Linked DNA regions of Homo sapiens: regions 2, 3, 4, 5 and 6 are each linked to region 1. The links are contacts of gene promoters, found by promoter capture Hi-C in blood cells and fetal thymus (Javierre and others, 2016). All regions are on one chromosome and are shown on one strand. The core of a region is centred on a gene start or on the middle of the fragment in contact, and the rest is flanking DNA. Distances in the headings are between cores, read along the strand shown. Region 1 holds the start of ZXDB (zinc finger X-linked duplicated B). Region 2 has its middle 11 kb from the start of NBDY. Region 3 overlaps NBDY (negative regulator of P-body association). Region 4 overlaps NBDY (negative regulator of P-body association). Region 5 overlaps NBDY (negative regulator of P-body association). Region 6 overlaps NBDY (negative regulator of P-body association).

The links. Contacts are between HindIII fragments. The CHiCAGO score rates a contact against its expected background, and 5 or more counts as called.
Region 2: a fragment that was not itself captured here is called in contact with the fragment with the promoter of ZXDB in region 1 in 1 of 17 cell types (monocytes); the score reaches 5.2 in monocytes.
Region 3: a contact is called between a fragment that was not itself captured here and the fragment with the promoter of ZXDB in region 1, in 9 of 17 cell types (monocytes, total B cells, total CD8 T cells and 6 more). The highest score is 12.1, in monocytes.
Region 4: a fragment that was not itself captured here is called in contact with the fragment with the promoter of ZXDB in region 1 in 4 of 17 cell types (M0 macrophages, total CD8 T cells, fetal thymus and 1 more); the score reaches 9.3 in M0 macrophages.
Region 5: a contact is called between a fragment that was not itself captured here and the fragment with the promoter of ZXDB in region 1, in 7 of 17 cell types (erythroblasts, total CD4 T cells, total B cells and 4 more). The highest score is 9.2, in erythroblasts.
Region 6: a fragment that was not itself captured here is called in contact with the fragment with the promoter of ZXDB in region 1 in 8 of 17 cell types (M0 macrophages, total CD4 T cells, activated CD4 T cells and 5 more); the score reaches 8.9 in M0 macrophages.

Annotation. Positions count from the first base shown.
Region 1 is chrX:57,590,714-57,594,185 of GRCh38, forward strand. ZXDB (zinc finger X-linked duplicated B) reads left to right here and starts at 1,298. Exons shown (of 1, transcript NM_007157.4): 1 at 1,298-3,472. The coding sequence starts at 1,336. RefSeq lists silencers at 1,636-1,925, 1,986-2,175. The HindIII fragment of the contact is 4,972 bases long and covers 148-3,472 here.
Region 2 is chrX:56,716,203-56,719,658 of GRCh38, forward strand. No RefSeq gene overlaps it. Among named protein-coding and RNA genes, the nearest start is that of NBDY, 11 kb to the right of the region's middle. The HindIII fragment of the contact is 5,458 bases long and covers 1-3,456 here.
Region 3 is chrX:56,756,667-56,760,456 of GRCh38, forward strand. All of the region lies in intron 2 of NBDY (negative regulator of P-body association), which reads left to right. Among named protein-coding and RNA genes, the nearest start is that of NBDY, 29 kb to the left of the region's middle. RefSeq lists an enhancer at 3,546-3,645. The HindIII fragment of the contact is 7,558 bases long and covers 1-3,790 here.
Region 4 is chrX:56,738,878-56,742,487 of GRCh38, forward strand. All of the region lies in intron 2 of NBDY (negative regulator of P-body association), which reads left to right. Among named protein-coding and RNA genes, the nearest start is that of NBDY, 11 kb to the left of the region's middle. The HindIII fragment of the contact is 1,634 bases long and covers 1,312-2,945 here.
Region 5 is chrX:56,818,694-56,822,307 of GRCh38, forward strand. It overlaps NBDY (negative regulator of P-body association), which reads left to right. Exons shown (of 3, transcript NM_001348129.2): 3 at 1-486. Among named protein-coding and RNA genes, the nearest start is that of NBDY, 91 kb to the left of the region's middle. RefSeq lists a silencer at 1,463-1,757. The HindIII fragment of the contact is 3,504 bases long and covers 1-3,080 here.
Region 6 is chrX:56,779,907-56,783,362 of GRCh38, forward strand. The region is part of intron 2 of NBDY (negative regulator of P-body association); the gene reads left to right. Among named protein-coding and RNA genes, the nearest start is that of NBDY, 52 kb to the left of the region's middle. RefSeq lists an enhancer at 2,664-2,803. The HindIII fragment of the contact is 775 bases long and covers 1,387-2,161 here.

The DNA of each region.
Region 1 (3,472 bases), core at 48-2,547:
ATGAGGTTCAAATAGTTATGGATGAATAGCTTGATTTTCAAGAGACCAAGTGTCCACTGTCATTAAAAGAGGGCGAGAGAGCTGGGAGTATTTAAACAACAGGTTACACCCCGCTCCCCCACCACCACCAATCTAGTCATTACTCTAAGCTTTCTTATCTCAGATATTTCACCCTATATTTGTGTCAATTCCCAACTCAGTCGTAACGGACAAAATGAAGGATTGTCATCATCATTAATAAGATCATTAGGCACCACAGGCCCAGCAAGCCTGGGCCACCACACTTAAATGTGAACAGGTACACCAGGTTGATTGGACAAGATCGTCTGTGCCTTTTACTTGGCAGAATCCATTGCAGTGACTCAGGATTTAACCTAAACACATTTAACTGAAACTCCTGCCCAGAGACCTCCACGTGCTGGAGAAGGCAGAGTAAACTGAGGAATGAATGCCCTCATTGTGCTGTGAGAGCAGACATGAAATTTATCACAGTACAACCGATGGTGGAAGGGCAAAAGTTGGTTTAGGTTGTGCACTGTATAGGGAGAAGCCAGGAGAAGGTTGGGTTTTTTCCAGATTTCAGTGTAAATTGTTTCATCCTCCAGACTTTGAATTTCTAGGCTGAAGAGTGCTAACCTGTTTTGGCCGCATCTCTCACTCATTCTAATGTCTGTATCAGCAAGACAAAATTTGAACTATGCGGCAAATTGTACCGAAGACTTTGCTCAAGATAATTGTGAATATGGAAGTTGTCCCGCGGGGAGGTGGGAAGGGGAAGGACATTTTCAGCAGAACTGCCAGCGCTATGGTGGTTTAATGCTGACACAGAGACAGTTTTTTCTCTCAGGAATTGTCTTTCATCCATCAGTCCAGCCAGCCAGCCAGCCAGCAAATTTTAACACACAGAAAGTACGAAGCAACATATCTAACACTGGGAGGGGCTGGGGTGTGTTTATTTGGGTATATACAATGAGTCATGGATTAAAATTGCTTCCAGCGGATAGATACCTAGGTGTTCCACAGCATTACTGAACAAGCTGTCGTCATTTCCCCATTACCTCAGAAGACCCCCTTAATTACTTACTTATATTAACTGTAGAACGTATTTATGCATACCAGGCTCTACCTCTGGGCTTTCTATTCTGTTCCAGAGACCCAGTACCAGAATATTTAAATCACTGTGGCGTTAAATACGTTTTAATATCTGATAGGGCCAGTTTCTGCGCATTGCACATTTTTTTTTCCCCTTTCAGGAACGTGTTCAGGCCCGCGGCAGGGGGCGGGATCGCGCCTCCTCCTCGGCTCTGGTTCCAGCCGAGCCTCTCGGACGCAGAGATGGAAATCCCGAAGCTGCTCCCGGCTCGCGGGACACTACAGGGCGGCGGCGGCGGCGGTATCCCCGCGGGTGGCGGCCGAGTCCACCGAGGCCCTGACTCGCCGGCTGGCCAGGTCCCCACGCGCCGCCTCCTGCTGCTCCGGGGCCCCCAAGATGGCGGGCCCGGGCGGCGGCGCGAGGAGGCCAGCACGGCATCACGGGGCCCTGGCCCAAGCCTGTTGGCGCCGAGGACCGATCAACCTAGCGGCGGCGGCGGCGGCGGCGGCGACGACTTCTTCCTGGTGCTGCTTGACCCGGTGGGTGGCGACGTGGAGACCGCGGGCTCCGGTCAGGCCGCAGGGCCTGTGTTGAGGGAGGAGGCCGAGGAGGGCCCGGGGCTCCAGGGGGGCGAGAGCGGCGCGAATCCCGCGGGGCCCACTGCGCTAGGCCCCCGCTGCCTGTCCGCGGTTCCCACTCCGGCCCCGATCTCCGCCCCCGGCCCCGCCGCGGCCTTCGCGGGCACAGTCACTATCCACAACCAGGACCTGCTGTTGCGCTTTGAGAACGGCGTCCTCACCCTGGCCACGCCCCCACCACACGCCTGGGAGCCAGGGGCCGCTCCTGCCCAGCAGCCCGGGTGTCTGATCGCCCCGCAAGCTGGGTTCCCGCATGCCGCGCACCCGGGTGACTGCCCAGAGCTGCCGCCAGACCTCCTGCTAGCTGAGCCGGCCGAACCCGCGCCAGCTCCGGCGCCTGAGGAGGAGGCGGAGGGCCCGGCCGCCGCCCTGGGCCCCCGCGGACCGCTGGGCTCCGGCCCAGGCGTGGTGCTGTACTTGTGCCCCGAGGCGCAGTGCGGGCAAACCTTCGCCAAGAAGCACCAGCTGAAGGTGCACCTGCTGACGCACAGCAGCAGCCAGGGCCAGAGGCCCTTCAAATGCCCCCTGGGTGGCTGCGGCTGGACCTTCACCACCTCTTACAAGCTCAAGAGGCACCTGCAGTCGCACGACAAACTGCGGCCCTTTGGCTGCCCGGCAGAGGGCTGTGGCAAGAGCTTCACCACAGTGTACAACCTCAAGGCGCACATGAAGGGCCATGAGCAGGAGAACTCATTCAAATGCGAGGTGTGCGAGGAGAGCTTCCCCACGCAGGCCAAACTCAGCGCCCACCAGCGCAGCCACTTCGAACCGGAGAGGCCTTACCAGTGCGCGTTTTCTGGCTGCAAGAAGACATTTATCACAGTGAGTGCTCTGTTTTCCCATAACCGCGCCCATTTCAGGGAACAGGAACTGTTTTCCTGCTCTTTTCCTGGCTGCAGCAAACAATATGACAAGGCTTGTAGGCTGAAAATTCACCTGCGGAGTCACACCGGCGAGAGACCTTTCCTTTGTGACTTTGATGGCTGTGGCTGGAACTTCACTAGCATGTCCAAACTCTTAAGGCACAAAAGAAAGCACGACGATGACCGGAGGTTCATGTGCCCTGTGGAAGGCTGTGGGAAATCTTTCACGAGGGCGGAACATCTGAAAGGCCACAGCATAACCCACCTGGGCACAAAGCCTTTCGTGTGTCCTGTGGCAGGCTGCTGTGCCAGGTTCTCTGCTCGCAGTAGCCTCTACATTCACTCCAAGAAACACCTGCAGGATGTGGACACTTGGAAAAGCCGTTGCCCGATCTCCTCTTGTAATAAACTCTTCACATCCAAGCACAGCATGAAGACGCACATGGTTAAAAGGCATAAGGTGGGCCAGGATCTCTTAGCTCAGCTAGAAGCAGCAAATTCTCTCACACCCAGCAGTGAACTTACCAGCCAGAGACAGAATGATCTCAGTGATGCAGAGATAGTGTCTCTCTTCTCTGATGTACCTGACAGTACTTCTGCTGCATTGCTGGACACAGCATTGGTGAACTCTGGAATCTTGACTATTGATGTGGCTTCTGTGAGCTCGACTCTGGCAGGGCACCTCCCTGCTAATAATAATAATTCCGTAGGGCAGGCTGTGGACCCTCCGTCCTTGATGGCCACCAGCGACCCTCCTCAAAGTCTGGATACCTCTCTCTTTTTTGGAACGGCGGCCACTGGTTTTCAGCAGAGCTCCTTAAATATGGATGAGGTCTCAAGTGTAAGTGTGGGGCCATTGGGATCTCTGGACTCTTTGG
Region 2 (3,456 bases), core at 634-3,133, 870 kb before region 1:
CATCAGAGAATACTATGAACACCTCTATGCACATAAACTGAAACATAGAAAAAAATAAGTTCCTGAACACATACACCCTCCCAAGACTGAACCAAGAAGAAATAGAATCCCTGAACAGAACAATAACAAGCTCTAAAATTAAATTAGTGATAAATAGTTTACCAACCAAAAACAGCTCAGAAACACATGAATTCACAGCTGAATTTTACCAGATGCACAAAGAAGAGCTGGTATCATTTCTGCTGAAACGGTTTTGAAAAATTGAGGAGGGACTCCTCCCTAACTCATTCTATGAGGCCACCATTATTCTGATACCAAAACATGGCAGACACACACAGACACCAAAACAAAAAAACAAACAAACAAACAAACAAACGCTTTAGGCCAATATCCTTGATGAACCTCAATGCAAAAATCCTCAATAAAGTATTCACAAACCAAATCCAGCAGCACATCAAAAAGATTATCCACCATGATATAGTAAACTTTATCCCTGGGATGGAAGGTTAGGTCAACATATCAACATACGCAAATCAATAAATATATTTCATCACATAAACAGAACTAAATTCAAAAACCACATGATTATCTCAATAGATGCAGAAAAGTATTTTAATGAAATTCAACACCCCTTCTTGTTAAAAAAAAAACCCTCAATAAGCTAGGTATTAAAGAAACGTACCTCAAAAATAAGAACCTTATATTACAAACCCACAGCCAAAATTATACCAAATGAGCAAAAGCTGGAAGCATTCTCCTTGAAAAGTGGCACAAGACAAGAATATCCTCTCTCAATCCTATTGAACACAAGTTTGAAAACCCTGGCCGGGGCAATCAGGCAAGATTATAAAATAAAGGGCATCCAAATAGAAATAGAGAAAGTCAAATTATGCCTGTTTCCAAATGACATGATTCTATATGTAGAAAATCTCATAGCCTTGACCCAAAAGTTTCTTCAGCTGATAAAGAACTTCAGCAAAGTCTCAGGATACAAAATGCATGTACACAAGTTACTACCATTTCTATACCTCAACAACAATCAGTCTGAGAACCAAATCAGGAATGCAGTCCCATTCACAATTGCCACAAAAAGAATATAATATCTAAAAACACAGCAATCCAGGGAAGTGAAAGATCTCTACAAGAGGAACTACAAAAGACTGCTGAAAGAAATAAAGGATGACACAAACAGATGGAGAAACATTCCATGCTCATGAATAGGAATAATTAATATCATTAAAATGGCCATACTGTCCAAAGCAATTTATAGATTCAATGCTATTCCTATTAAACTACCATTGACTTTTCTTCACAAAACTAGGGGAAAAAAGCTGTAGGCATCTCATTACCTGACTTCAAACTATTCTACAGGGCTACAGTAACCAAAAAAGCATGGTACTAGTACAAAAACAGACATATACACCAATGGAACAGAATAAAAAACCTAGAAATAAGACTGTACACCTACAACTATCTGATCTTTGACAAACCTGACAAAAACAAGCAATTGGGAAATGATTCCCTATTCAATAAATGGTGCTGGGATAACTGGCTAGCCATATGCAGAAGATGAAAACTGGAGCCCTTCCTAGTACCATATACAAAAATTAACTCCAGATGGATTAATGACTTAAATGTAAAACCTAAAACTATAAAAAACCTGGAAAACAACTGATATAGTTTGGCTGTGTCCCAGCCCAAATCTCATCTTAAATTGTAGCTCCCATAATTCTCACGTGTTGTGGGAAGAACCCAGTGGGAGATAATTGAGTCATGGGGGCAGTTTCCCCTATACTGTTCTGGTGGTAGTGAATAGGCCTCACAAGATCTGATGGTTTTATAAGGGGAAACCCCTTTCACTTGTTTTCATTTATCTCTTGCCTGCCACCATGTAAGACTTGCTTTTCACCTTCCACCATGATTGTGAGGCCTCCTGAGCCACGTTAAACTGTGAGTCTATTAAGCCTCTTTTTATTTATAAATTACTCAGTCTGGGGTATGTCTTTATCAGCAGCATGAGGACAGACTAATGCAACAACCTAAGCAATGCCATTCTGGAAATAGAAATGGGCAAAGATTTCATAACGAACATGACAAAAGCAATTGCAATAAAACAAAAATTGACAAATGGGATGTAATTAAACTAGAGAGATTCTGCACAGCAAAAGAAGCTATCAGCAAACAGATGACCTACAGAATGAGTGAACATTTTTGCAATCCGTGCTTCTGGCAAATGTCTTCTATCAAGTATCTCTAAAGAACTTAAACAAATTTACAAGGAAAAAAACAATCCCATTAAAAAGTGGGCAAAGGACAGGAACAAACACCATTCAAAAGAAGACATGCATGTGGCCAGCAAACATATTTTAAAAAGCTCAACAAAAGATTTATAAAAATGGCAGACAGAAGGGCGGACTAAATTGCAGCTCCCAGTTAGATGGACAGAGCAGCATGTGGAGACTCACATTGTAAACTTTTGCTCCAAGAACTACTGTGGGAATACCAGGAAAGCTGTGAGAATTAACAGACCCTTTGAAAGAAGCAGACTGCTTCTGCAATACTCAGAAGACAGCCCAAGTACTCTGAGTGCCCAAACTGTGAGAGTGGGAAACGGGAATTGTTTGCCCTTGAATACACACCCTCACTGGGGAACCTGAAGGTTCAGATAACAGAAGAAGGATTTGACCTTACCTGGAGCTGAGACAATCTGAAGAGCTGAGCAAAATACAAGGTTAGAGGAGGCAGCAGGAAAAGCCCTGTGGGCTCTCTGGGTACCCAGAGAAGCCATTTCTAACTTGTCTCACAGGGGTCCTTGGGGAGCACTGCCAGAGAAACTGGGAAAAAAAAACACAGAAAGAAGAAAATCTCCAGCTAGACTTTATGACAATTCCAACCAAATTCAGTTTCCTGGCCAGAACTTAGAAGAGGGCATGAATCGGTTGTGCAGACTTGACAGATGAGGAAGCACAAAAGCCCGGCTGAATGAAACAAGTTTTCAGCCTTCCTTGCCCACTGCCTAGAAACAAACTCAGTGCTGTGGAGGGTGGGGGGAACGGTGGGAGTGACACCAGCCTTTTGGGTTGTGTGGATCCTAGGTGACGCCTGTAACTGCCAGCTTTCCTCCACTTCCTGGACAACCTGCATGACACAACAGAGGCAGCCATAATTCTGGGAACATAGCTCCATTGACCTGGGAACCACAACCTTACTCCCCACAGCAGTCAAATCAAGCTCTGCCCAAGGAGAATCTGAGCTCAGACAGGCCTAACCGTGGCTCCACCTGATGGTCCTTCCCTACCAATGCTGGTAGCTGAAGACAAAGGTCATAATCTCGTGGGAGTTCTAAGGCCTTGCCCACCACCTGATCCTCCCTTATACTACCACAGCTGATCCTCTCTTGAAAGCACCACCTCCTGGCAGGAGGCCAACCAGTACAAAACTAGTGCATTAAACAAC
Region 3 (3,790 bases), core at 347-2,846, 830 kb before region 1:
ATAGGAAAACTAAAATGGCCAGGCACAGTTGCTCACTCCTGTAATCTCAATGTTTTGGGAGGGCAAGCTGGGCGGATCACTTGAGGTCAGGAGTTTGAGACTAGGCTGTCCAACATGGTGAAACCCTGTCTCTACAAAAAATTAGCGGACTTGGTGGTGCATGCCTATAATCCCAGTGAATCTGGAGGCTGAGGCATGAGAATCACTTGAACCAGGAGGCGGGGGTTGTAGTGAGCCGAGATTGCGCCACTCCACTCCACCATGGGTGACAAAGTGAGACTCTCCCTGAAAAAAAGAAAAGAAAAGAAAAGAAAATGACCCTAGACACATTTTAGTATTTACATAATGTAAATTATTTAACACAACAGTACTGATTAAACTGTAATAACAACGATAAATAATATTGACTGGCTTTTGATAAGTATAATTCTCAAATATGATCAGAATTAGAATATATTGCTAAAGAACTTTAGGAAGGTGTTAATTGAAAATTCTAATTGTGAGAATTCAGTGTCCACAAGAGACATGTTCTATTTCATAATACATTAATATATTTCCTTATATTAGATTTTTCTGAAGGTTTGTAGAAGTGCATCTTGTACTCTGCAGAGGAATAGGATGACAAATGAACTCAGGGTTAATTGGAATAATTTTAAAATGCACGTTGATTAAATAAGAAGGCAGCATTGATTTCACAGCAACTATATATAACTATTCATTGTGGTTTCATAAACAACAAAAATTGTAACCACTAAACACACTAATTCTGGGCATCCCTTCCTTCGCTTCGTGCACCATCAATTCAGTGGCCCTTTGCAGTGAGCACTTGACATCCGAAAAACAAAAGAAAACCTAAAAAACAAAATGAGGAACCAACTAAGGTACACCCTTCTCACTTCAGCAGGGCTCCCCCCACTTGACCACATTGGGGAAACCTGCAAAAGTAGGAGGATTCTCTGCTTCCATCATTCCTTCTAGATTATTCTCTCGGAAAGGGAAAAAGAAGAGAAGAGAAGGGAAAGAGAAGGGAACGGGAGGGGAGGGGAGGAGAAAGGGAGCGGGGAAGGGAAGGTTTGTCTTCAAAAAATCCAACCATTGGGGCTGTAGCATGGTGGGGGGAGCTTGTAGGAAGGAAGGAAGGAATGCTTGTCTTCAAAAAATACAACCACTGGGGCTGTAGTATGGTGAGGGGAGCTTGTATTTCCGGGAAACAGGGGAGGTGTGTGTGGGTATTGGAGGAGGGTGGCTACAGAATCCTCTATGAACCTGCTCAGGTCTCATAAACAGGAAAACAAGCCACTTGCTTGTGTGCACCACACTTGTCCCTAGGCAGCACACTCCCTCCTGGGAAAGAGATCAAAGTTTGGATTAAAAGCAGCCAGGTCCGCTAGGCATGGTGGCCCACACCTGTAATCTCAGCACTTTGGGAGGCCAAGGTGGGCAGATTGCTTGAGGCCAGGAATTTGAGACCAGCCTGGCAAATATGGTGAAACCCTATCTCTACTAAAATTACAAAAATTAGCATGTAATCTCAGCTACTTTGGGAGGCTAAGGCAAGAGAATTGCTTGAACTCAGGAGACAGAGGTTTCAGGGAGCCGAGATTGTGCCACTGCACTCCAGCCTGTGTGACAGAGTGAGACTCTGTCTCGAAAAAAAAAAAAAAAAAGAAAGAAAAAAAGAAAGGCAGCCAGGTCCAACAGGCATCTGCACATTGTTGACCCATCCAGCAGAACAGGGTCGAGAAAGGCATCTGTCGGGATGGGGCAGGACAGGACGAGACAGACTATTGTCTGAGGCATTTGGCTACCTCTCTGACTGGAACCCAGGCACTCATATGTGCCCAGGAATGGGTGGGATATTCCGGATGGGTTCCACAGGTGGCTCTCCTAGAGAGACCCACTTGGCATATTTGATGATGGAGCATGCAGGCTCCCTGGAACGTGATGGCTCACTAGTTAGTACCCCCGGCATCTTGGTCATTCTGCTGAAGTGCATGGGTAGCCAGGCCCCCGGCAGTGCTCAGTTTCTCCTGGGCCCCTCTGTGTTCCTGTGGTGGGTGTGGAAGTGGAGGTTGAGGCTAGAGTGTCTTTGAGGGTGGTGGGGCAGCTGTGCCTTGATTTGATACAGAGCTCTCTGGGCTCCTCAAGCTAAACTCTGGTGCTTGCCAGATACTCAGCTCAGATAATGAATGAGACGGTGGAGGACAAATTATTTTGCCCCTTTAGGGTCTCCAGGCAGACATGCAAAAGCCTGGTGCAGGGCCTTCATACAGAGCCCATGTTGGGTGCAAAGCCATGACCCCGTTGCTCTAAAGGTTGCATGTCCTACCCATACCGCTTGGTACCTGGAGAGCAGCATGGAACACAATGCTCTCAGAATATTGAAAAGGTTTTCTGTGTCTCCACTGAGGGATACTCCTGCCTCAGGCCCTGTGGCTGCCTATTGAGCCATCAGCCCATTCTGGTGACCTGCATGTGCCAGGACAATGTGGTAATCTCAACCAGGAGCTCCAGGTTTACATAGGCCCCCAGTCCTTGGGTAAATCCTTGTGTAAGCCAGCTGGGTGGCTCCCACTTTCTCCTGGAATGGCAGCCCTATGATCCCAGTCCACCTGTGGTGTCCCAGTGGCCATGATTATGTGTCCTTTGTCATTACTTTCTGCACTAGAAGCAGCCACAAAACCTGGAGAGGGCCAAAGGAAGGGCAAAGGCTGGATGCCGAAACAGGATTCCCACAGGGTCTCCAGCCTACCAGGCCTTGGTCATTGGGACCCCTGAGTTTGGTGGTCAACCTGGGACCTAGTGGCTGTTTTCTTTTTCTCCCCACTTTTTCTCTTTCTCCTTCCTATTTTTTTTTTTCACATGGGAAAAGGCGGAGGACCTCGGGGTGGAGGAGCAGGGTTACAGTTATAGTTAGTGTTTGTGGAGCCCTACTGCCATCAAGCAGAAACAGTTTCTGGCACTGGGATACAGCTGAGCACCAGTGCTGGGGAAAGCCCAGGAGTGCTAAACAGATGGCGACAAGCCGTCCACAGGCTGAAGCAGGAGGAGAGAGGAACTCCTGACTGGCCCTTGGCCTGTGCTTATTCCCAGGATGGCGCCTTGGCTCCACAGCTCTCTCTGAAAGAAAGGGCAGGCAGGGGCACCCCACCATGGGCTCCCCTGGCAGTCTCCAGGGACTTCCAAGCATGAATCGCCCCGCCCCCAGCACCCCGAAGTTCCTTTGTTCCCAGGGAGAATAAGAACCCCTTGGCCCCAGCTTGGACCCAGCCAATGGCACCTTGGAACTCCCCACAAAGGAGACCAGAGTAAACAGCCCCAGTCTCGACCATCAGTGCCCAGTGGCTTCCCTTATGCCCATCACAAGACAGGGTGTCTCTGCCCACTGGGTAGACTGGTCTTGAGGCTGCCGGGTTGTTCTGTCCCAGGGCCTCTAGAGTTGCTGCTTCTCCATGAGGTCCCAATGGCAGGTACACTTCCTTCAAGGGCTTTGAACCCCGGTGGGGGGAAACCCTGCCTTGGGCTGAGTCTACCCAGCCTGGCACATCCTCACTGTTTGTTGTCTGTGCCTGGAAGAAGGCAAGTTTCCTTGCAGCCTGTAGTTCAGAAACACCTTCCACTGGATGTCACTGTGGCTCCACAAATGGCAGTCACCCCTTTTCTTTCCCCCACCTTGCCTTCCTCTCCCTCCTTTTGCTGGCAACCAAACAAAACAAAGACCAGAAAACAGAAACTGGGGCTGGGTGCGGTGGCTGACGCCTGTAATCCCAGCACTTTGGGAAGCCGAGGC
Region 4 (3,610 bases), core at 879-3,378, 850 kb before region 1:
ACTAAAGGGTATGATCTAATACCAATAGACTTGGTGGAGAAACCCAGCAAGGCTTGTCTGTTCAGATTCTTCTTGGTTTCTCTGTGCAGCATTCCTTCCTCCTGGGTATGGGGCAGGACTCTTTCTGAAATGGGAGTCTTATGACCCACAGTCAAACTAGGTAGGTCAGAGAATTTCTTTACGACCAGCTCCAAGCCAGAAAGCTGGGTGAAGATTAGAGTATATTTTTAGTTTCTATGGCTTGCCTTTGGGAGAAAAAAAAAGCAGGTAAAAGGAGGGCAGGAGAAAGTCAGAGAGAGATTCTGTTTTGTGAAGCCTAAAGTGCCCCAACATTATACATATATATGTGTGTTTGTGTGTGTATATATATATATATATATATATATGTATGTATATATATATATTTTTATATATATATATATAGAGAGAGAGAGAGAGAGAGAAACTGTCTCTCACTTTTATTTCTCTGAAGCTGTTTCAAAGCTGCTTCAGGAACCAAAGACAAAAGACCAAATACTTTAACAAGAGATATGCTTATTTCTTTAGTCACTTAGGAAATAACAAGAGATTTGGGAGTTATAAGCCAGGAACCATGGACAAAAACCAATATATATATATCACAATATCACACATCGACAATTGACACTTGGGTAAATACAGGACACTTATTTCATAGATTGTCCTTTAATTTAAATTTGTGTGCCATTTCCCCATTATTCAGAGTACGCATATTAGCAAAAGCACCACAGAAGTAATGTATTGTTCTCAGGGCATCATAATGGTGGTACATGATGCTGGTTTGACCCTTTAGTAGTAAAGTTAACTTTGATTACTTGGTTAATGTGGTGAATAGTTGCTAGATTAATCCACTTTACAGTTATCATTTTCCTCTTTATAATTAATGATTTTGCTGGGGATACTTTGAGACTATGTAAATATCCTGTTCCTCATTAAATTATCATCCACTGGTTTTCAAATCCATTGATAATTCTTGACTGAATCAGATATTGCTATGATGAATGCAAAATGGTAATTTTCAAACTCCATCATTTTTAGTACATTTATTAGTTTATATTCTACATCAAGGTAGAGCTTTTTCTCCATTTATTTGTTTATTAATTACTTTGGACACATAGATTTTTACTTTATTTTAAAAATACCCTATTGTTATTATTTATTTTAATACCCAAATTGTCTCAGATTTAGTGACTGGCTGCCCATTCAAGTTGGCTCCCCTGTCTTTTGACATGTGTCATCATTCTTAAACACACTTTTTACTTACTTTAAAATTTTTTTACTTCCTTACTTTCAAGCTTGTCTTGTACTTCCTACCCCATTAATCATTTCTCTATAGACCTCTGTTATCTTTTATGGAGACAGTATTTAGAAACTAAGTCATTGTATATAGCTGTTTTTTAGCTTAACATTTTGTCATTGTTTTCCATTTAAAAGACAATATTGCTTATGTGATAATGATTATTTAGTGTTTGTTGAAACTTGCTTTATGTCCTAGAGAACATGATCAACTAGTGTTTTATGTGTGCCTGGAAAGATTGTGTATCTAATTTTTGCGTGTAGTGTTCTGTTCATTAAATTTAACTGTGTTGTTTAAATCTTCTCTATTCCTAAGTTTTTTGTTTGCTGGACCTATCAGTTACCAAGAGAGTTAAAATCTCCCACTGTATTTGTGTATTTGTCAAATTCTTACACTTTTGACAATTTTTGCTTTGTATACTTGAGGCATTGTTAGTATGTACATACAAGTCTAGAATAGATACATATTTTACAATTTTAGGAACTCTTTTTATCTTTTTGAATGTAAATTTTTTTTGTTTGCTGGGTCTTTTTAATTTTGTAAAATCTTTCTGGGTACCTAGTAGTTGTATACATTTATGGGGTATATGAGATGTTTTGATACATGCAAAGTGTAATAATCACATCATGTACAATGGGGTATCCATCATTTCAAGCATTTATCCTTTGTGTTACAGACAATTTAATTATACAGTTATATTATTATTGACTATAGTCACCCTGCTGTCCTATCAAATAATAGGTCTTATTCATTCTTTTTGTATACCCGTTAACCATCCCCACTCTCCCCCACCACCCATTACCCTTCCCAGCCTCTGGTAACCATCTTTCTACTCTCCATCTCCATGAGTTCAATTGTTTTGATTTTTAGATTCCACAAATAAGTGAGAACATGTGATGTTTGTCTTTCTGTGCCTGGCCCATTTCACTTAACATAATGATATCCAGTTCCATCCATGCTGTTGTAAATAACTAGATCTCATTCTTTTTTATGACTGATTAGTACTCCACTATGTATATATACCACATTTTCTTCGTTCATGTATCTGTTGATGAACCCTTAGGTTGCTTCTAAATCTTAGCTGTTGTAAGCAGTGCTGCAACAAACATGGGAGTGCAGATATCTCTTTGATAATACTGATTTCCTTTGTTTGGGGTATATACCCAGCAGTGGGATTGCTGGGTCATATGGTAGCTCAATTTTTAGTTTTTTGAGGAATCTTCAAATCGTTCTCCATTGTGGTTGTACTAATTTACATTCCCATCAACAGTGTACAAGCATTCCCTCTTCTCCGCATTCTTGCCAGCATTTGTTATTGCCTGTCACTTGGATATAAGCCATTTTAATTGAAGTGAGATAATATCCCATTGTAGTTTTGATTTGCATTTCCCTGATGATCAACTACAATGAGTACTTTTTCACATGCCTGTTTGCCATTTGTATATCTTCTTTTGAGAAAGGTCTATTCAAATCTTTGTCACAATTTTGATCAAATTATTAGATTTTTTCCTATTGAGTTGTTTGAGCTCCTTATATATTTTGGTTATTAATTTCTTGTCAAAAGTGTAGTTTGCAAATATTTTCTCCCATTGCACCTATACTTTATAGACTGTTTGCTTTGCTGTGCAGAAGCTTTTTACTTGATGTGATCCCATTTGTTCATATTTGCTTTGATTGCCTTTGCTTGTGGGGTATTAATTAAGAAATTTTTGCCCAGATCAATGTCCTGGAGATTTTTCCCATATTTTCTTGTTGTAGTTTCATAGTTTGAGGTCTTTGACTTAAGTCTTTAATACATTTTGATTTGATTTTTGTGTATGGCAAAAGATAGCTATCTAGTTTCATTCTTCTGCATATGGATATCCAGTTTTCCCAGCACCAATTATTGAAGAGACTGTCTTTTCCATAGTGTATGTTCTTGGCACCTTTGTGGAAAATGAGTTTGTTAGGTGTGTGGATTTGTTTCTGGGTTCTCAGTTATCTTTCATTGGTCTATGTGTCTGTTTTTGTGACAATACCATGCTGTTTTGATTACTGTAGTTCTGTAGTATAATTTGAAGTCAGGTAATATGATTCCTCCAGTTTTGTTCTTTTTGCTTAGGATAGCTTTGGTTATTCTGGGTCTTTTGTGGCTCCATATAAATTTTAGGATTGTTTTTTCTATTTCTGTGAAGAATGTTTTTTGTATTTTTATAAGTATTGCATTGAACCTGTAGATTGCTTTTTGTGGCATGGACGTTTTAACAATATTGATTCTTTCAATTCATGAACATGGACTATCTTTCCATTTTTTGG
Region 5 (3,614 bases), core at 79-2,578, 770 kb before region 1:
AGTTCATATGAAAATGTAATGGACCCAGAATAGCCAAAACAATCTTGAAGTATACAAAGTTTGAAGAGTCACATTTCCAAATTTTAAAACTTATTACAAAGCTACAATAAACAAGTCTATGTGGTACTGGCATAGGATATAAATATTGATCAATGAAATAGAATCCAAAGTCCAGACATAAGCCCTCACAAAAGTTAATTTGCAGCCAATTAACTTCTGAGAAGGAGGCAAGACAAAAGGGGAAATAACTATTTTCAATAAATGGTACTGGGACAACTTGGTATCTACATGCAAAAAAAAAACAAAAAAACAAAAAACTTCCACCCCTACCTCATGCAAAATACAAAAATTAACTCAAAATAGGCCAAAGACTCAAATATAAGGGTTACACTATAAAACTCTTGGGAGGAAATATAGAATAAATTTTTGTGACCTTGAATTAAGTATTAGATTTTTAATTCTTACACCAAAGCACAAGTTAATAAAGGAAAAAAAAGATAAACTGGACATAATTAAAATTGAAAAAAAATTTGCTTCAGTGAACACAGTCAAGAAATTTGAAAGACAGCCACAGTGCAAGATTATTTTTGCAAATAATATGTCTCATAAATGACTTGTATCTAAAATATATAAGACCAGGCATGGTGGCTCATCCTGTAATCCCAGCACTTTGGGAGGCTGAGGCAGGGGGATCACTTGAGGTCAGGAGTTTGACACCAGCCTGGCCAACATGATGAAACCCCATCTTTACTAAAAATACACACACAAAAAAAATTAGCAGGGTGTGGTGGTGTATGCCTGTAATCTTAGCTACTCAGGAGGCTGAGGTGGGAGGATAGCTTGAACCTGGGAGGCAGAGGTTGCAGTGAGCCAAAATTGCACCAATGCACACTCCAGCCTAAGCAACAGGGCAAGACGCCATCTCAAAAAATAAAACAAAATAATAAAATAAAATAAACAGTAATTACCGCTAAATAATAAAACAAACAATAAACCAATTTTATAACGAAAGGATCTGAATAGATTCTTCTGTAAAGAAGACATACAAATCACAAATTACACATGAGAAGATGCTCAACACTATTAGTCATCAGGGAAATGCAAATCAAAATCACAAAGAGACAGCAATTTATACCCAGTAGGATACTTATTATTATTATTATTTTAAATAGCAAAATAATAAATGTTAGAATGTGGGAAAACAGGAACATGCGGCATTGTTGCTGGTAATGATAAATGTGCAGCCACTGGGCAAACAATTTTGTGGTTCCTCTCTAAGTTAAAAATAATGGCTGGGCGTGGTGGCTCACACCTGTAATCCCAGCACTTTGGGAGGCTGAGGTGGATGGATCACCTGAGGTCAGGAATTCGAGACTAGCCTGACCAACATGGTGAAACCCCATCTCTACTAAAAAATATAAAAAATTAGCCCAGCTACTCAGGAGGCTGACGCAGGAGAATCCCTTGAACCTGGGAGGCAGAGGTTGCAGTGAGCCGAGATCCCACCACTGCACTCCAGCCTGGGCATGACAGAGCAAGACTCCATCTCAAAAAAAAGAAAAAAAAAAGAAATAACATGCTACCCAGCAATTTTACTCCTGATACATAGCCAAAATAACTAAAAAACAGGTGTTCAAACAAAAATTGTACAGGACGGTTTACAGCAGAAATATTTGTACTAGGAAAATGTGGAAACAACTCAAATGCCCATCAACTGGTGAATGGAAAACAAAATGTATATTCACACAATGGAATATTAATTTAGTCATATACAGGAAATAAGTATACATACTGCCAGAATAAACCTTGAAAGCATTATGCCAAAAAAAAAAAAAAGGAAAATAATTCTTGCCTGGTGGTCTGGGAAAAGCAAAAGCATTATGCTATGTGAAAAAAGCCAGTCACACAGTACCATATATTATATAATTTCATATAAATAAAATGTCCACATGAGGCAAGTCTATAGGTTCAGAAAAAATATTTGCTTAAGGATGGAGTTTCCCTTAAGTTATGATTGAGAATTGATGTCTAAGGACTGTGTGATTTTATTCAGGGTTAATGAAAATGCATAAGAATTGACTGTAGTGATATTTACACATATCTATGCTTATCTATAAATATCCAAAACCATTGAATTGTACACTTTAAATCACGGATTGTATTATATGTGCATATCTCAAGTTGTTTAAAACAATAGATGTCTGGCTAGCACCTCCCAAGGCAGCCTCTCCCAACTTTTATTTTATTTTTTTGAGACGGAGTTTCACTCTTGTTGCCCAGGCTGGAGTGCAATAGTGCAATCTTGGCTCACTGTAACCTCCACCTCCCAGGTTCAAGGAATTCTCCTGCCTCAGCCTCCCGAGTAGCTGGGATTACAGGCATGCACCACCACACCCAGCTAATTTTGTATTTTTGGTAGAGACAGGGTTTCTCCATGTTGAGGCTGGTCTCGAACTCCTGACCTCAGGTGATCCGCCCGCCCCTTGGCCTCCGAAAGTGCCGGGATTACAGGCGTGAACCACCATGCCTGGCCAGCCTCTCCCAACTTATTAAATTCCTATGCAGCAAGATGGCAAAATGGAATTCTTCAGCACTCATAACCTTGCAGAAGTATCCATTTGAACAACTATTCATGCGCAAAATTACCTTTACAAGGCCTAAAGAAACCAAGTGAGAGATTACAGCACCTGGGTGTAGCAAATAAAGAAAGATGCATTTAAGAGTGGAGAAAGGGCAGATCATTTGAGGTCAGGAGTTTGAGACCAGCCTGGCCAACATGATGAAACCCTGTTTCTACTAAAAATACAAAAATTAGCCGGATGTGGCAGCAGGCACTTGTAATCCCAGCTACTTGGGAGGCTGAGGCAGGAGATTCGCTTGAATCTGGGAGGCGGAGTTTGCAGTGAGACAAGATTGCGCCACGCACTCCAGCCTGAGCGACAGAGCAAGACTCCATTTCCAAAGGGGAAAAAATAATAGAGTGGAAAAAGGACAGTTTTACATTATGCACATCACCCCTCCCCCAACTCTAAGTAGCACAGCATGGAGAAAGATACACATCTATGAGGGGAAGAAGAAAAAGCTTAGTACTGGACTTCCTCAAACCCCCAAACTGGGCCCATTCCAGTAAAACCTTGCACCAGAGAGGCCCCCTTAGCCCCAGGTTCCAGGCTGGTACATGCAGACTGAACTTCCAGGCCTACCTTGGCACTAGGTAGGATCCTGCAGACCCAGGCTCTAGGCCTGCACAATAGACTTGGATTCCAAAACTGCCCCAGCACCAGGTTGGCTCCAGTGGCCCCAGGCTTCAAACTGGTACCAGCACCAGACTTCAGGCCTGTCCCAGTGCCAGATTAACACACTGGCATCAAACACCAGGTGGGGACCCATGAAGATATGGTCAATGCCTTCCCAGTGCCAGGCTGGTCTCATGGTCCCACCTTTCAGCTAACCCAGGGTCTAGGCCCTCCCAAATAGACCTCAGTGCTGGGCAGGCCCTCATAGACTTAGACTCCAGAGTTGTCCATGTGTACCCATATACAAGGCCAGTATCCAAGACCCCAGGACCTAGGCCAGACTTTGCTGTCTTAGAATCTAGGCCAGCAACTGTATAC
Region 6 (3,456 bases), core at 524-3,023, 810 kb before region 1:
CTGGACGGGACGGACTCCTGTCTGAGGCCTTCAGCTCCCTCCCTCTCTGGAGCCCAGGCACTCGTCTGTGCACAGTGGTGGGAGGAGCATGCCGGGTGGGTTTCACAGGTGGCTCTCCTGGAGAGAGAGCCTCTTGGCATGTCTGACGGAGCACGCGTGCTCAGTGGAACGTGGTGGTTCACCACTTAGTTGCCAGGCATCTTGGTCCTTGTACCCAAGTGCATGGGTAGCCAGGGCCCAGCCTGCCCCACTTCGCCTGGACCCCGTCTGATTTCCTGTGCTGCGTGTGGAGGTGGAGGTTGAGCCTTGAGTATTTTGGGGGAGAAGGGGCTCGGGCGGGGGGCTGTGTTTTGGTTTGGTAGAGGGCTCACTGGGCTCTCGAGCTAAACCCTGGTGCTTGCCGGATATTCAGCCCAGAAAATGCATGAGACCGTCAAGGACAAATTATGCCGCCCATAATTAGGGTCTCCAGGCAGACATAAGAAAGCCTGATGCGGGACATCATACAGTGCCCATGTTGGGATGCGAAGCCGCGACCGCCTTGCTCTAAAGGTTGCATAGGCTACTCATGCCGCTGGGTGCCTGGACAGCAGCATGGAACACAACGCTCCCCGAATATTGCAAATGTTTTCTGTCTTGGCTTGTTACAAATCTTCCTGGATGTGTAGGCCACCCTGGGGACGAGCAGCCCTTCTTAGGGCAGAAAATTCACCCCACGGGTGATGATTCCCACGCTGGGGGTGTGTGAACCACTCTCACAAGGAGGAATGTCAATCTCGTGAGCGGGCCTGCACTCTCACGGCATTCCGGGCAGAAGAACCACATGACCATGGAACAGGAGTCACCCCCTTTCTGTCACTTGTCAACAAATGCGGATTTTTTTTTTTTTTTTTTTTTTTTTTCCTCATATGTAGGTAGCATGCACCAGGGTGCGCCTCTGGCGGTGCCTAGGGAGAACGCGAGAAGAAAAGAATGCAGGAAGATCTGGACTGCGTCTTTAGGGTTGGCACTGGGACTGTGAGTGTCAGAGGTCCTCGGTTTTAACTTTTAACTCCCATCACATCTCAACTGTTTCCTTGTCAACAAATGTGTGTCCTTTTCTCATAAGTGTATACCATCCACCTCGGGGCCCCTCCTTTTGTGCCTTGGGACATCGGGTGAAGTAAGGAACGCAGGAACTTTGGTGTTGTTAGTTTTAGTGTCAGAGGTTCTTGTTTTTACCTTTGAACATCAATCACGTCTGAACTATATCCTGTCTTCATCTGTGGTTGCATAGGTCCTCAGGCACATACAAGTATCTTCTCCAGTAATGACAAGCTTCTGCCTAGACACCTTCATTCACAACTGTTTCCCGTCATCTAAGCAACCCTCAGGAGGTAGTTGTTAAGCTTTCACGTTCCCTCCTGTTCATTTTTCTTATTGCTTTCTCTCTGCCTTCCCAATATTTGCTGATGGAGTGTGCGGGATGGGGTTGAGGTGTGGGCAGCAGGGAACAGGGCAGTCTCCTGGCCCAACAGATCTTTGTGCAGACGCGGTACAGACCCGGGATTTAGGGGCTTATGCTTTCTTCTGGCTGGCGCCTTATCCTGTGTGAGGACACAGGAGGCTACTCACAGGGCTGTCAGCTTTCCATATGATGAACTCTGCTTTCCAGTTTACTCTGTAACTCATTGCTCACTCTGATTCTTTGTGTACTTTTGGAGTTTTCCTCCCTTCACTTTTTTCTTCTTCACTGTCTTTACTTTTCGTCCGCTTCTGTTTATGGAGGTCACAATCAGCCAAGAAGGCAGGGTCAGTTATGCACGGGGACATGGTTAAGGAAAACAGGCTTACTGTTTCTAAGGAAATTAGAAGGACTCCAGCTGAACCCTGCGAGGAGAAGTTGGCATTTCCTTATTCTTTCTGCCGTGTCTCCATATTGCCATGGGTGGCTGATTACCTCTTTTCCCTGGTGTCCGATTCCTCCCCGTTTTTCATCTTTTTCTTTTGGGTGGTTCTTCACTGCCTTGGTTTTGTAGACTTTGGGCTTGGTGGCCCCTTGCAGTCAGCTGATGACATCCTCAGGGTAAGGTTCAGCCTACACTTGTGTACTCTGTAGTTCTGCAGGCCAATTTGTGGATCAAAGTTTTGATCCCACTCAGGAAAGATCCCATCGACAAGAAGCTTCTCGTTTGTATGTCCTTTAAACGGGAGGTGACCTGGGGCTCCTTGTCACTCATTGTGTATGTCACCACACACTGAGGTCTTCCTTAACTAGATCCTTCAGGACAGCTACAGTGGCATGGACCTCCCACTTTCTGTTCTTGTTCTCTTTCTGGTTATTCTTCCTCTTCCTCCTCCTACTCTTTTAATTCCTCTTCTCTTTTTTGTTTTCTTACTCTTCCTCCTCCATCTTCTCCTCCTCCTCCTCCTTCTTCTTTCCTTCTCCTCTTCTTTTGCCTCTTCTTCTTTTTTGTCTTTTGCTTTTGCCTCTGCTTCTCTTTTTCCCTTCACTTTCAGATCAGGACAGACAAGTGTTCTAGGAGACTGCTTCTTCTTTTGCTCCTTGGTGATTCAGCATGTCTCTCTGCAGTACTAGGCCTAGAGAAAGCTTCACTTTTGTTCTTAATTTAGCACTGATGAAGGTCACCAGTTTAGTCTCTCTGGTATACCAAAAACCTTCCCACATGTTGCTTTTAAGTGAAATGTCATGGTGAACAGATCCTTTACCCAGTTCCTCATGGCTTGCTGTTATTTCCTGTTCTGTTCGTGGATGCACTAGGTGTGTAATCCTGAGCCATTAGGAAGTTTGGCAAGTTGTCCCGTGTCTCCTTTTTTTTCAGTCCAGCCATGTGAACACATTGATCCGGATTTCAGTTTTTGCAGGGTGTCTCCGCCACATGCCCATTTGCCCACTCTCACTCACAGAGGCAGGCACCCACAGACCACAGACACAGACACAATACATACACTCACAAGGGACCCCCCAATCAGAAATTAAATCACAAACACACACGCACATGGAGACTCATGCACACACAGACACAAACACACACATTAAACACGCCTAAGCGGACACACACACAGATACACACAGACACACACACACACACAGAAGTAAGCTCACACTAGTACAAATGTGCGGGTTTAAGCATTATCGTACACAGACACACACAACACCTCAGGCACGAAACTGCCCACAATGTCTTCCACTCGGGCTGTAAATGGGGCTGTAAATGGTGGCGTGTGGCCCTCAAACTGAGGCGGGACAAGAGAGGAACTCCTTGCTGGCTCTTGGCCTGCCCTCATTCCTAGGATGGCGGCCTGTCTCCACAGCTGTATGTAAGAAAGGGCAGTCGGGGCGGCCAGCCATGGCTTCCCCTGGCAGTCTCCAGAAACTGCCGGGCATGAGTCGCCCAACACTCAACACGCCGAAGCTCCTTTGTTTCCTGGGTGGATAGGGGCTTTCTTGCCCCA